Linked DNA regions of Homo sapiens: region 1 is linked to region 2. Evidence: promoter capture Hi-C in human tissues and cell types (Jung and others, 2019). All regions are on one chromosome and are shown on one strand. Each heading gives the region's core, a stretch centred on a gene start or on the middle of the fragment in contact. The rest is flanking DNA. Distances are from core to core; before and after follow the strand shown.

Region 1 (6,889 bases), core at 1,582-4,081, 54 kb before region 2:
GAACAGACGGTGCACAACTCTGTCAGACCCATGCAACTGTCACCATGAGTGGGACAGTGCCACCAGCCCCCAGCATCCCCTCAGGAGGTCCCTTTCTAGTAAAATCCTTTCCCCATCCTCCCCCCGGGGCAGCCACTGCTCTATGCTTCGTCCCTGTACAATCGTATGTCGCTTCACGACGAGGATGCATTCTGAGAAATGTGTCCTTATGTGATGTCCTCCTCGCGTGAACATCACAGAGTCTACTCACACAGGTCTAGAAGGCAGAGCCGATGCGCCCAGCCTGTATGGTACAGCCTGTTGCCCCTGGGCTACAAACCTGGTCAGCCTGTGACTGTACTGAATACTGTGGGCAACTGTAACACAATGGCAGGAAACTGTGTGTCCAAACGGGGTGCAGTAGTTGCACCTATAGTCTCAGCTACTTGGGAGGATCCCTGGAGCTTAGGAGTTCAAGACCAGCTTGGGCAACATAGTGAGACCCAATCTCAAAAAAAAAAAAAAAACCCCACAGAATTTGTGTAGCTAAACATAGAAAAGGTACAGTAAAAATACAGTATAAAAGATTAGAAATGGCCCATCTGTATAGGGCACTTAGCATGCATGGAGCTGGCAGGACGAGCAGTTACTCTGGGTGAGCCAGTGCCTGAGTGGCGAGTGAATGGGACGCCCTCGGATGTCCCTGTGCACTGCTGGAGACTTTATAAACACTGTACGTGTAGGCTTCACCAAATCTGTTTAAAAATATTTTCATTCTTTGATATCTTACTGTAATGTTTTTACTTTATGAACCTTTTAATTTTCATAACTTTTTGACTCTCTTGTAATAACATTTACCTTAAAACACAAACAAGTACAGCTGTACAAAAATATTTTCCTTTATTATATCCCTATCCTATAAGCTTCATTCTATTTTAAAATTTATTTATTTTTTTTTACTTTTTAAACTTTTTTCTTAAAAGCTAACATATATATACACACACACACACACACACAGTAGCCTAGGCCTGCACAGGGTCACAATCACCCACCTCACTGTCTTCCGCCTTCACGTCTTGTCCCATTAGAAGGTCCTCAGGGGCGGTGGCATGTATGGAGCTGTCCCCTCCTAGGGCAGCAATACCTTCTTCTGGACCCCTCCTGAAAGCCCTGCCTGGGGCTGTTTTGCAGTTCACCTTTTTCTATATAAGTAGAAAGGGTATACTCTAAAATAACAAAAGTATTGTACAGTAAACACATAAGCCAGTAACAGAGTCATTTATTATTAAGTATTATGTAATGTGCATAACTATATGAGCTTGATTTTATAGACTGGCAGTGCAGTAGGGTTGCTTACGCCAGTGTCACCACACATGGGAGAAATGGCCGCTAGGATGTCACTAGATGACAGACACTTTCATCTCCATTGCAATCTTACAAGGCCACCATTGTACATGGGGTCCATCACTGGCTAACAGGCGGGGACGCAGCACATGGTCCATCACCGTCTAACAGGAGGGGATGCAGCACATGGTCCATCACCATCTAACAGGCGGGGACGCAGCACATGGTCCATCACTAACAGGAGGGGATGCAGCACATGGTCCATCACTGGCTAACAGGCGGGGATGCAGCACATGGTCCATTACTGGCTAACAGGCGGGGATGCAGCTCATGGTCCATCACTAACAGGCGGGGATGCAGCACATGGTCCATCACTGGCTAACAGGAGGGGACGCAGCACATGGTCCATCACTGGCTAACAGGCGGGGATGCAGCACATGGTCCATTACTGGCTAACAGGCGGGGATGCAGCTCATGGTCCATCACTAACAGGAGGGGACGCAGCACATGGTCCATCATTGGCTAACAGGAGGGTATGCAGCACATGGTCCATCACTGGCTAACAGGCGGGGATGCAGCACATGGTCCATCACTGGCTAACAGGCGGGGATGCAGCACATGGTCCATCACTGGCTAACAGGCGGGGATGCAGCACATGGTCCATCACTGGCTAACAGGCGGGGATGCAGCACATGGTCCATCACTGGCTAACAGGCGAGGATGCAGCTCATGGTCCATCACTGGCTAACAGGCGGGAATGCAGCACATGGTCCATTACTGGCTAACAGGTGGGGATGCAGCTCATGGTCCATCACTAACAGGCGGGGATGCAGCACATGGTCCATCACTGGCTAACAGGCGGGGATGCAGCACATGGTCCATCACTAACAGGAGGGGATGCAGCACATGGTCCATCACTGGCTAACAGGAGGGGATGCAGCACATGGTCCATCACCGGTTAATAGGCGGGGATGCAGCACATGGTCCATCACTGGCTAACAGGAGGGGATGCAGCACATGGTCCATCACCGGTTAACAGGAGGGGATGCAGCACATGGTCCATCACTGGCTAACAGGAGGGGACGCAGCACATGGTCCATCACTGGCTAACAGGAGGGGATGCAGCACATGGTCCATTACTGGCTAACAGGAGGGGATGCAGCACATGGTCCATCACCGGTTAATAGGCAGGGATGCAGCACATGGTCCATCACCGGTTAATAGGCGGGGATGCAGCACATGGTCCATCACTGGCTAACAGGCGGGGATGCAGCACATGGTCCATCACTGGCAAACAGGCGAGGATACAGCACATGGTCCATCACCAGCTAACAGGAAGGGACGCAGCACATGGTCCATCACTGTCTAACAGGAGCGGATGCAGCACATGGTCCATCACTGGCTAACAGGCGGGGATGCAGCACATGGTCCATCACCAGTTAACAGGCGGGGATGCAGCACATGGTCCATCACCGGTTAATAGGCGGGGATGCAGCACATGGTCCATCACTGGCTAACAGGCGGGGATGCAGCACATGGTCCATCACTGGCAAACAGGCGAGGATACAGCACATGGTCCATCACCAGCTAACAGGAGGGGACGCAGCACATGGTCCATCACCGTCTAACAGGAGTGGATGCAGCACATGGTCCATCACTGGCTAATAGATGGGGATGCAGCAAATGACTGCACCGCACTTTTCCTGTTTCCAGAATGCCATGTCCATGGAATCACGCAGGGTGCAGCCCCTTGGGATGGCCCCCACCCCTCAGCATTCACGCTGCTCAGATCCATCCCGGTGCTGTGCACCCATCCTTCCTTTTTCTGAGCCGGGGTCTCACTCTGTTGCCCAGGCTGGAGTGCAGTGGCGCAACCACAGACCACTGCAGCCTCACTCTCCCAGGCTCAAGTGATCCTCCCACTGCAGCCTCCCTAGTATCTGGGACTATAGACACACACCACCCTGCCCAACTAATTTTTTAAGGTTTTTGTAGAGACAAGTTCTCATTATATTGCCCAAGCTCATCTCAAACTCCTGGGCCCAAGCAATCCTCCCACCTCAGCCTCCTAAAGTGTGGGATCATAGGGATGAGCCACTGTGCCTGGCCTGTTTTATTTTGTTTTGAGATGGGGTCTTGCTATGTTGCCTAGGCTGGTCTCAAATCCCTGGGCTCAAGCGGTCCTCCTGCCTTGGCCTCCCAAAGTGCTGGGATTCCGGGCATGAGCCACCATGGCCAGCCCATCTCTTTCCAATTCTTGAGTAGAATTCCATTGTATGGGTGTACTATAGTTTATCTATTCACTCACAGAAGGACATTTGAGTTATATCCAGTTTTTGACAACTATGAAAAAAGCTGATATAAACATTCATGCTTGAGTTTGTGTAGAAACATCTTCATGTCTCTAGGGCAAATGCCTAGGAGTGGAACTGCTAGGGCATAAGGTGAGTGTATCTTTAACTTTGTAAGAAAATGACAAACAATTTTCCAGAGCAGCTGCTCTGTTTTGCATTCTCACCAACAATGGTTCGAGAATTCCTTGCTGGCTATTGTCATGGCTGTTCTTCTAATTCTTTCAAGAATATCTTTTGCAGAACAAAGTTGTCTTCCCATTGATTGAGCTTTTGGTGTCATATGTAAGACCTCTTGCCAGGTCACAGGGATTTTTCTCTGATATTAAAAGTGTGATAGGTTTGCATTTTATGTTTAGATAAAGTCTGAGCTAGCTTTTATATAAGGTGTAAGAATTACATCCAAGTCCTCCTTCATCTGAGGATGCCTTTATTCCAGCTAAATTCCCAAAGAATGTTTTCACTAGATATAGAATTCATATTGACCATTCCTTTTTCTTCAGCATTTAAAAAATTTTGCTCCATTGCTCCCCGACTTCCATGGTTTCTGGTGAGAAATCCATTGTCTTTCAAATCCTTGCTCTTCCATATGTCTACAGCATTTTTGTTCTGGCTGGCCTCAGATGTTCTTGTCTTTCAGCAGCTTGATTAGGATGTTTCTTCATCAACATGGATTTCTCTTTGTTTATCCTGTTTTGTGTTCATATCTGAATCTGTAAGTTTCTGTCTTTGCCAAGATTCAAGCAATTTGAGCTGTTATTTATTGAATCTTCCTATACCATCCACTGTCTCCTCTTCTTCTGGAAGTCTGATAATCTGACTGTTGGTGTCGTGGGCCCTAAGGTTCCCTTCATTTTTGGTCCATCACTTTTCTCTCTGTTGTTCAGATTGGATAATTTCTATTGATCTTCAAGGTCACTCTTCTCCTCTTATCTCCATTGTACGCTATTGAGACGATCCAGGGAATTTTTCTTATTTCAGTTATTGTACTTTTCAATTCTAAAATTTCCATGTGGTCCTTCTTGCATTTTTACTTTTCATTTTTTAAATTTTATTTTTATCATGTTTCATACACACACCTTCACCCTGCCCCCAGAGTCTCCTCTATTATTAACATCTTGCATTAGTCCCCAGTGTCACCCAAGGACCCCTGCACTAGGACCTGGGCTACTGCCCCCAAGCTCTTCAATGAAGAGGCAGACACTGACTACCCCAAGGGAATGTGTGTGTGGCAGGGGTAGGTGCAGCATGAACAGAACTTAGGAAGCTGGCCTCAAGCTGCCTTCTCATTGCCATCTCTAGCAGTCTGCCCACCTCCCAGGCTTTTGGCCCAGGAGACAGGATCAGCCACAGTTGTGAAACCTCGTTCCACCCTCTTCTGGCTTCCATGGTTGCTATTCTTGATTCCACTGCTGGTTTGTTATTGCTAGGGGGTTTGTGTCTGTCTCAGCCTGCAGAAAAAGATGTTTTCTTCAGGGGTGATAACCATGGTCAAGCCCCACAGGAGGGTTTAGGGTTTCAGTTTCCACCGCCAGCATTTAGTGGGGACCCCAGAGCTGGGGAGTTAATGCAGAAATTCATTCCGTATCAGCAGCAAACACAAAGACCCTGGCACACATAGCCTTGAGCCCAATGCCAGGGCTTCACGAAGAAGCCCACGATATGCAAGAGAAGCCCATGATATGCAGGAGAAGCCCACGACACGCAGGAGAAGCCGATGACACACAGGAGAAGCCCACGATATGCAGGAGAAGCCCACGACATGCAGAAGCCCACCACACACAGGAGAAGCCCACAATACGCAGGAGAAGCCCACCACACACAGGAGAAGCCCACGACATGCAGGAGAAGCCGACAACATGCAGGAGAAGCCCATGATATGCAGGAGAAGCCCACGATATGCAGAAGCCCACCACACACACAGGAGAAGCCCACGATACGCAGGAGAAGCCGACGACATGCAGGAGAGGCCCATGATATGCAGGAGAGGCCCACGATATGCAGGAGAAGCCGACGACACACAGGAGAAGCCAACGACACACAGGAGAAACCAACGACACGCAGGAGAAGCCCATGATATGCAGGAGAAGCCCACGATATGCAGAAGCCCACCACACACACAGGAGAAGCCCATGATACGCAGGAGAAGCCGACGACATGCAGGAGAGGCCCATGATATGCAGGAGAAGCCCACGATACGCAGGAGAAGCCCATGATGCGCAGGAGAAGCCCACAACACGCAGGAGAAGCTGATGACATGCAGGAGAGGCCCACGATATGCAGGAGAAGCCCATGATATGCAGGAGAGGCCCAAGATATGCAGGAGAAGCCGACGACATGCAGGAGAAGCCCAAGATACGCAGGAGAAGCCCACGACACGCAGGAGAAGCCCATGATACACAGGAGAAGCCGACGACACGCAGGAGAAGCCGACGACACGCAGGAGAAACCCACGACACGCAGGAGAAGCCAACGACACGCAGGAGAAGCCCATGATATGCAGGAGAAGCCGACGACACGCAGGAGAAGCCCACGACATGCAGGAGAGGCCCATGATATGCAGGAGAAGCCCACGACATGCAGGAGAAGCTGACGACATGCAGGAGAAGCCCACGACAGGCAGGAGAGGCCCACGATATGCAGGAGAAGCCGATGACATGCAGGAGAAGCCCACGATATGCAGGAGAAGCCCATGATACGCAGGAGAAGCCCACAATACACAGGAGAAGCCAATGACATGCAGGAGAAGCCGACGACACGCAGGAGAAACCGACGACATGCAGGAGAAGCCCACGATATGCAGGAGAAGCCGACGACACGCAGGAGAGGCCCATGACACGCAGGAGAAGCCCACGACATGCAGGAGAAGCCCACGATACGCAGGAGAAGCCCATGATACACAGGAGAAGCCCACGATACGCAGCAGCAACGTGAGCAGGTGAGAAGCCACCATGAGCAAGAGACAGAAAGCACAGCCAACGGCAAGGCCAGACCCTGAGAATGTCCCAGAGGTGAGCCATGCAGAGGAGATGACAAGGTGTTTTTTAAATGGTTACATTTGTGGGAAACAGGAACTCCTAAGAAGAAGGCAAGACACTGCAGAGAAGGAACAGGCGCACCTGGAACAGAGTGCAGGAGACAAAGCGAAGACCATCGCTGTTGTGACAAAGTCGGCGGATGTTTTAACAGCCAATGAGGGATAGAGAAAGAATGAA
Region 2 (7,371 bases), core at 1,870-4,369:
GAGCCAGCACCTGCTTAGGCTGCAGACGCTAGTGGCCCACCAGCACCAGGGTTCTGGTGTCGGGGCAGGGCAGAATGCCTGGAAGCGCCCCAGGAGCCATGGCTTCTGGGATGTCCTTCCTGCAGCTGAGCTCAGGGCTGCTGGGCAGGGGTAGGAGCTGTGGCCCCAGCCTTGGGGCTCATGAAAGCCTCTGGCAGAGAGGATGGCCTGGCAGCGGGCGGGGTTTCCCTGCTGGGAGGGAGGCAGGGCCCGACTCCTGCTGCAGTGGCTCTGGGGACGGGCAGCTGGCGGCCAGCGGGGCGGGCTTAGTGGCAGGCCCTGGTCCTCGCGCTGGCGCTCAGGGCTAAGCTGGGGCTCCTGCCCTCTGCTGCAGCCGACTCCTCTCTGTAGCCCCCCTCTGGGCTGTCCTGGGACTTCGCCTCCCACGCAGGCAGCCTGCAAGGTGAGGGGTGGGTGGTGCCCAGCACAGCAGCAAAGACTTTGTGGGAACCTTGAGACCTGAAAGAACAGGAGAGTGGGCAGTGAAGGACCACGCAGGACAGTAGCCAGGGCTCCATGGGGAGGGGCTGGGGCCGGTGGATGGCGCTGGTCTTCCAAGGCAGAGGCCCCCCGACCCCGTCAGAGCCTCCCAGCGAGCCCGAACACTGGGGAGTGGCCTGGGCCGCAGGGTGTCTGGGGTCTGGGGAGGAGCTCATTTGGCCGGGACAGCTGATGGTGGGGTCTGGGTGGAAGGGTGGTGCTCCGTTACCTGTTGTCACTCTCCTGGCTCTGATGGTGCCAGCTGCTGCCTCAGCCGGATTTGAGGACTCAGCCCCTCTGGGACCCTCCGCCTGCCATGGGTGAGTCATGAGCTGAGCTCTGATTCTTCTCCAGGCGGGCGTGAATCACTGGAGCTGGGGGAGAGAAAGCGCGGGTCCATGTGAGAGCTGGCTCAGCAAACTGCCCCTGCCTCCCACCCGGCCCACTCTCCCCAATGCCCCCTTCCATGATGCCAGCCCCACCCCATCCCTTTGGCTAACTTGCTGGGGGCCCAAGCCTCAGTGGGCTCTCCTAGAAAACAGCCTCCGGATCCCGCCAGCTCTCAGATGCCCCACAGCCGGTACTGCCTTGGGGCAGGGGCTCACCTGAGGGGCCAGGAAGCACCGGGACATCAGGTCTGCTCTGCTGCGTGTGCGACTTCTACTCTCCCCTGGGAGGAGGGGGCCGCGCTGCCCGAGGCTGGCCAGCTGCCCTGGGAGGCAGGGAGGGCGTCAGCTGGCTCTGCGGATGCCGGGAGAGGGCGGCGGCGCCGGAAGTCGAGGCTCCCTCAGCATTGGCTCTGCCCTAGCTTCTGCTCTGGGTGTCCCATGAGCTTGGTGGCCGCTGGCCCCTGCCATCCGGACACTTGGTTTTCTGGATGTCCAGAGGGCCTGGGTGTTGTAGCAGAATGAGGAAGCTGGGGTGTTCTGTGATGGCCTGAGAGTGTGGAGGGTGGGGTCCAGGCCGGAAAGACAGACGGAGGGAGGGTGATGGGTGGAGCCCTGCAGGGGGGAGGGCTCTTTGCCGCTGGGTGCGGTGCTCACATCTGGATGACACGAGTGTGTGCGAGTCCGCCCGGAGCTCGAGGGGGCACCCAGCTGGACCAGGGCTTCCCCTGCAGGAGTCAGCCCCAGCTCAAAAGTCCTGGTGGGCAAAGCCACAGGCTGGATGTAGTGGGCAGGCTGGGGGCTCCGGGATGCCCTCTACTCGGGCTGGGTCCGGTCACTGGCCACGGACTCGCTGTTGGGGGCGGGCGTGAGGGTCTCCGCCTCATCCTCCACCGGGAGGTGGGGGCCGGCCGGCTCGGCCGCCTGCTCCAGGTCATCCTGCACCTCCATGCCCCTCTGGATGAGCTGCTCCAGGGTCTTGGGCAGGGGGTGGCGCAGGAAACGCTTGAGCTTGGGCTGCAGGGTGCCCACCACGTACTGGATGATCTCCTCCTCGTCCGCGTCCACGTAGAGCGTCTGGTACAGGTCCCGCTTGCGCCACAGGAACTGGTCCAGCGGCTCGCCCTGCTTCTGCGGCAGGTCCAGCTCGCGCTGGATGGCCTCTCGGGACAGCGTGCCCTCGCTGTACTGCAGGAACTCCTTCTTGAACTCCACCCAGTTCTTCACGGAGCCCTGCTTGAACTCCCACCACTTCTTGGCCGGCCCGTTCATGTGATTCTGGATCTGGGACAGCCAGTACTCCTCAGAGCCGCCCACCTGCCGCAAGTACTCCTCTAGGTGGCTCAGGAACTCTCGAGGGTCCTCGAAGATCTGCGTGTCCACGCCGGGGCTGGGCTGCCCGTCCTCGCCGGGGACCCACGGCTGGTACTGCTGGGCCTCGGCGGGCTCCTGCCCGGGCAGCTCGCCAGCGGCTGGGGGCGGGGTGATGGCGTAGGGGCTGACGGTGTAGTCGTAGCCGTCTGCCTCGTGGCAGTAGCTCTCGGGACCCCCCACGCCCACGGAAACGGTGTGGCGGGCTGACTCGCTGCCCACCGGGTACTTGCCGCCCGTGGACTCCAGGCGGTCGGCCCAGCGCTCCAGGCGGTAGAACACCTCGCGCCACACGTGCATCTCGCGCTTGACCCAGCGCTCCAGGTTGGCGATGGTCTCCTGGCAGCGGCACAGGCAGGCCTTGATGGACTTCTTCCAGCGCTGCGAGTCGCTCGTGGGCACGTAGCCGTCCAGGTTGCTCTCCAGCTTCCCGACCGACCGGTGCAGCCCCTTCAGCTCGCGCTCCACCTGCTTGGACACCTCGGCCAGCAGGTGCCGGTGCGTCCGCCGCACGTGCTCCAGCATCTCGGCCCGGCACTTCCCGATCTGCAGGATCACGTTGGGCTTGGCCACCTGCCCGCCCCGCGGCCCGGGGTAGGCGTGGAGCCCGCCGCTGGTCCGGTGGTCCAGCTCCATCTGTGCGCAGGTGCTCCGGCAGGCGGCAAACTCCTCGGGGCGGACAGAGGGTGGTCCGGCGCTGGGGTCCGGCGGCCTGGGTCCCGTGCGGAGCTGCGGGGAGCGCCTGTCTGTCGCTGCGGGCCGGCGGCGGGGCCGGCGGAGCACGCCCGGGGAGGCAGGTCCGGCTCGGCTGCTGCGGAGGGAGGACGCCGCGCCCGAGCTCTGCGCTGAGTCCTGGCCGCCGGCTCTTTATGCAGCCAGCGAGGCCCGTGGGCGGCCGGCTCGCCGAGCCCGGTTTCTCATTGGCCCAGCCGCAGGCTCCCCGCCAGCGCCCCGCCCGCGCCCCTGCAGGCCCCGCCCTGCGCCCACTCGGCTCCCGGGCGGCAAGGGACGGGAGGTCCCACCCCCTGCACACATGGCGGGGCCAGGATGACTAATCCCTCCGCTCCGTACCTCCCACCCCGGACGGCGGGGCTCATTCAGCCTGCGGGGACCGAGGGACTGAGCCGGGCACTGGGCGCCCCTCCCACGCCCCCTCCCGGGCGCTGGGCGGGCTGTCATCTGCTGCCTCCCAGGGTCCCAAGGTGGCCTTCCTCCTCTCCACTCGCCTCTCTCTTTGCGGGGCTGGAGGGGGCTGGCGCTGGCCACTGCTCTCCTGGGTCCTCACTGCCCCTGACCCCGCCCACCCAGCTCTGCAGGATGTGCAGCTGAGCCCGGGAAGGACCCTCACCATCAGCCTCTGTGCCCAGGGGCTCAGCAAGTCTCCATGTGAGCTCCCAGATGTGGCTTTGAGCTCCCACTCACTCCTGCCCGGGTCCTGAGTCCAGGTCTTGGGCTCTGTGTGAGGGACGCACAGCCAGGCAGAGGCTCGCTCTGCCTGGCCCTGGCGTTGGTGTGCATGGGTGACAGGGGCCCACGTGGCAGTGACTGGACAGGGCTGCCCCATGCCCCCATACGCAGGTCTCTGGTGAGGCCCAATACTTTTCTGTGTTTCCAGGGAAATCTGGCAGCTGCTACCTGGGGGGCTGGGGTTTGGAGGACATGGAGGGGACATTTAGCCCCCAGTGAAGGGAATTGGGCCCTGAAGACCCTGGCTATATCAAGAACCTGGCCAGAGGCTCCAAGACTTCTAAGGGGATGGAAGAGGGGAGGAGAGAGGGAGACAGGGAGGGAGGTGGAAGGAGGGAAAGGAGAAGGGGAGGGAGGAGAGGCGAGGAGGGAGAGGGAGGGGGGCCGGTGCTGGCAGCACAGTGCCATCAGGAGAGGCAGAGGGAAGCCAAGCACCATATAAGGAGCGGGGCTCCGGAAGCCGAGACTCCCTCGGGAGGGAGGTCCCTTCTGCCTCCCTGGCAACCTGGCGGGGGTAGGGACGCCCTTCCTGAGTTACTCCAGTGCTGGCTGGATAGGCATGGGTCTCAGGTCCTCTGATGTTACCCAGGCAGGGGTGACACACACCATTCCCCACAGCCAGAGGGCCATGAGGACATCATCGCTGACAATCAAGACATCTTGTTCCTGCTGCCAGCTGCCCTTTCCCTCTCTCAGACACACACATGCTGCACACTCACACCCCCACATACACACTCATAGCCCCCACTCTAACCCCACCCCACACACTCATGCCCTCACTCACAGCCCCCACACACACTCATACCCCCCACTCATAGCTCCCACATACACACTCATACCCCCCACTCATAGCTCCCACATACACACTCATACCCCCCACTCACAGCCCTCAGCTCCCCCCAGCATCCCCTGTCTTATTCAGGCACTCAAGGGCACACAGGTGCCCACTTGCTGGAATCCCCCCTCCCTGCCAACCCTCTGAGCCCCCCCCCAACCGGCTCTCCCGGGGAGCCCTCTCCCAGCCTCAGAGCCAGTCTGTCTCCTCCTTCCTTCCGCCCCTGGGGGGGAATGTCTTTCTGGCAAAAAAACTCCCCAAAAATGGCTCTCCTGGCATTTCTAATTAAAGGTAAGTGGGCGGACAGAGAAGGGAGGGCGGAGGGGCACCGCGGAGCTGGGAGGGGGAGCCAGGCAGAGAAGTCTCCAGCACAGGGACCTTCCCGCTTCTCCACTGCGGAATCCCAGGGAGAGGAGCTGGGTGGGCACATGCGGGACGGGCAGACGCCAGCAGCCTTGGGTGAGTGCAGCCAGCGGTCACCGAGGGCCACATGTCCGGGTTGGGGCCAGCCTGAGCCTGTAGGTGTTGTCTGGGTGCTGGGCACTGACCGTGCATGTGTGTCCATTGTGAGAGCCAGCACTTCAATGACCAGGGGCCAGCCCCGCCAGGGTTTACAAGCCCGTGTGGCCTCTGACGTCCCCGCCAGGGCACAGCTCTTAGGCCTCTGGCCAGCAGTGGCCTCCAGCTGCCACCCCCACCCAAGGCATCAGCAAGCTGACAAGGAGGCAGGACTGGGGACACGTGAGCCAAGGTCATAGGTGGTGCCGCTGCCTCAGTTCCCTCACCTGTGTGGAGGGAGCCAGGCCTGGAGAAGGGTGAGTGCCCAAGGTGGCCCGGTGAGCAAGGCAGGGCTGGGCAGGAGCCAGGCCCTTGGTGAGGAATCCTGGCGTCCTCTGCTCAATGCCCCGTGGCCCATCACCACCCCTGTCACCTGCTAAACAGCAAGCCAGAAGTGGCCAAGCCGAGACCGGTGGGAGAGCACAGTGCCTGCCCTGGATGGCACGAGGGCAGGCAGCGTCGGGGGTGCCACGCGGAGCCCCGTCTTCCCCTCCCCAACCCCCTCCAGCAGGGTCTGCAGAGGCTGTGAATGCAGGCCTGAGCTGACCGGTGACAGGCAACAGCCGCAGCTGCCAGGAACGCTTAATCGCTGCCCAATTATCGCCCCAGAAGCCCTCACCAAACCCCCGCACTGCAGCCTCGGGAAAGGAGGCCAGGCTGACTCCCATCCACCTGGGGCGGGGGCCTCTCCTGACAGGGGCCTGCCCTGCTCCTCTCTCCAGCCCACCCCCACCCCGTGCCCGTCCCTGACAGCCACTGGAGCAGCATGGCTTGGGGATGCAGGTGGGGGAAGGAACAGGGGAAGGGGGTGGGGGCTAGACCTGCACAAGGAGATTGGGAGCACCTGGGGGATCCCCACTCTCAAAGCCAACCTGGTCTGCTGCTGCGCAGGTCTGACCACTCTGAGGCCCCACCTGCCTGAGAGGAGGGGTCCTGCAGGGGAGGGTGGGGTAGCCCATGACCCCCAGGTTCTGTTCACGGTTGAGATCTCCACCAGGCTCACGACAGCCTCGAAGGACCTCTTAGTGCTGGTTCCTGAGCCCCCACCACCTAGGTTCCCAGAGGCGTGCGGGTACCTGCTCTGAAAGGCAGGGGCCACCCTGTGCCTTGGGCCTCCCTTCTCCTTCTGGGGTGCCCAGCCGCCTCTGCTCCTGCCTGATCAGAGCAAAGGGAGTCAGCTCTCTCCCCGCAGCCCCAGACTGTCTCAGCCCTGGCTGACCCACTCCGGCAGGGCCTTTCTGGGTTGCCAGGAGCGTTCACAGGGCAGCTGCTGACCTGGGGCATCCTGCTGCTCCCCCAGGCTGGCCCTGCTGATCTCGGGTGCCGGCAGTTAGCGCTGCTCAGCAGGGAGAGGCAACCACAGGCCCCTTCAGGCCAGAGCTCACACCCACCCCCACTCACACACATGCGCAAACACATGGGCACACGCAGAGGCACACACCTCCCCCATCTCCCCTGCCTCCAGGCTCTGTCCTCTTTGGAAACAACCCAGAGGGCCCCCAACTCTGCCTTGGCCCCCCACATCACTGTCTTCATAAAGGCCCTTCCTCACCTGCCCACTGCTGGCCACACACACCTGCCCACCCCACCCTTTGCACACATTCCGGGGCTCCTGCTGCCCTTCTGTGTGGGCTGCGTGGAGTGAGGAGCCGGCAGCAGAGAAGGAATGAGGCAGTCCCAGGGGTTGGTTCGGGCACCCGCCCCCCACATGTGACCACTCCCCAGCCTTGTGGCCTCATCTGTCACCATCTACTGCCCGGTGGGGCTGGAAGAGAAGAACCAGGCTGCCCTATGCCCTCAGGGTGCCCATTGCTTGCCCAGGCTGCATGGCCAGACCTGGAGGCCAGCCTCTCAGCCACCTGCTCCCACCGGGTGTCCCTTGCTGTCCAGCCCAGGGCTCCACAGGCTGCAGGAGCTGCTGACCTCTGACCTCGCTGGGCTCCCAGGCTGGACTCCCACCCCAGGTATCCTCTTTTCCTGTTGCCTCTTCCTCGCAGGCACAGGGCAAGGCTGTCCCAGCTGCCTGGCCTGGCTGAGTCCCTGCACCACCCTACAGGTGGTGCCCATAGGTGAACACCTGAGTGTAAGCAGGGCCTGGTCCAGAGCAGACACTGGCGAGGGGTCTGAGGGCTGGAATGGTTCCTGTTCCATTCCTTTCTAGTCAGGAAACATTGGACAGTTGCTCACCTGAGCCTCAGCTTTCCATCCGTAAAGTGGGTGGCAATGCCAAGGCCT

The links. The method cuts DNA at HindIII sites, captures the fragments that hold promoters and counts their contacts. A contact is called where the count stands out against the background at its distance.
Region 1: a contact is called between a fragment that was not itself captured here and the fragment with the promoter of ARC in region 2, in 1 of the 25 tissues and cell types used here (dorsolateral prefrontal cortex).

The regions. Positions count from the first base shown.
Region 1 is chr8:142,557,708-142,564,596 of GRCh38, forward strand. No RefSeq gene overlaps it. Among named protein-coding and RNA genes, the nearest start is that of ARC, 53 kb to the right of the region's middle. The HindIII fragment of the contact is 7,337 bases long and covers 1-6,500 here.
Region 2 is chr8:142,611,360-142,618,730 of GRCh38, forward strand. It overlaps ARC (activity regulated cytoskeleton associated protein), which reads right to left and starts at 3,120. Exons shown (of 3, transcript NM_015193.5): 1 at 1,125-3,120; 2 at 749-893; 3 at 1-498. The coding sequence starts at 2,912. The coding sequence ends at 1,722. RefSeq lists an enhancer at 2,313-3,211 and a silencer at 3,227-3,436. The HindIII fragment of the contact is 38,144 bases long and covers 1-7,371 here.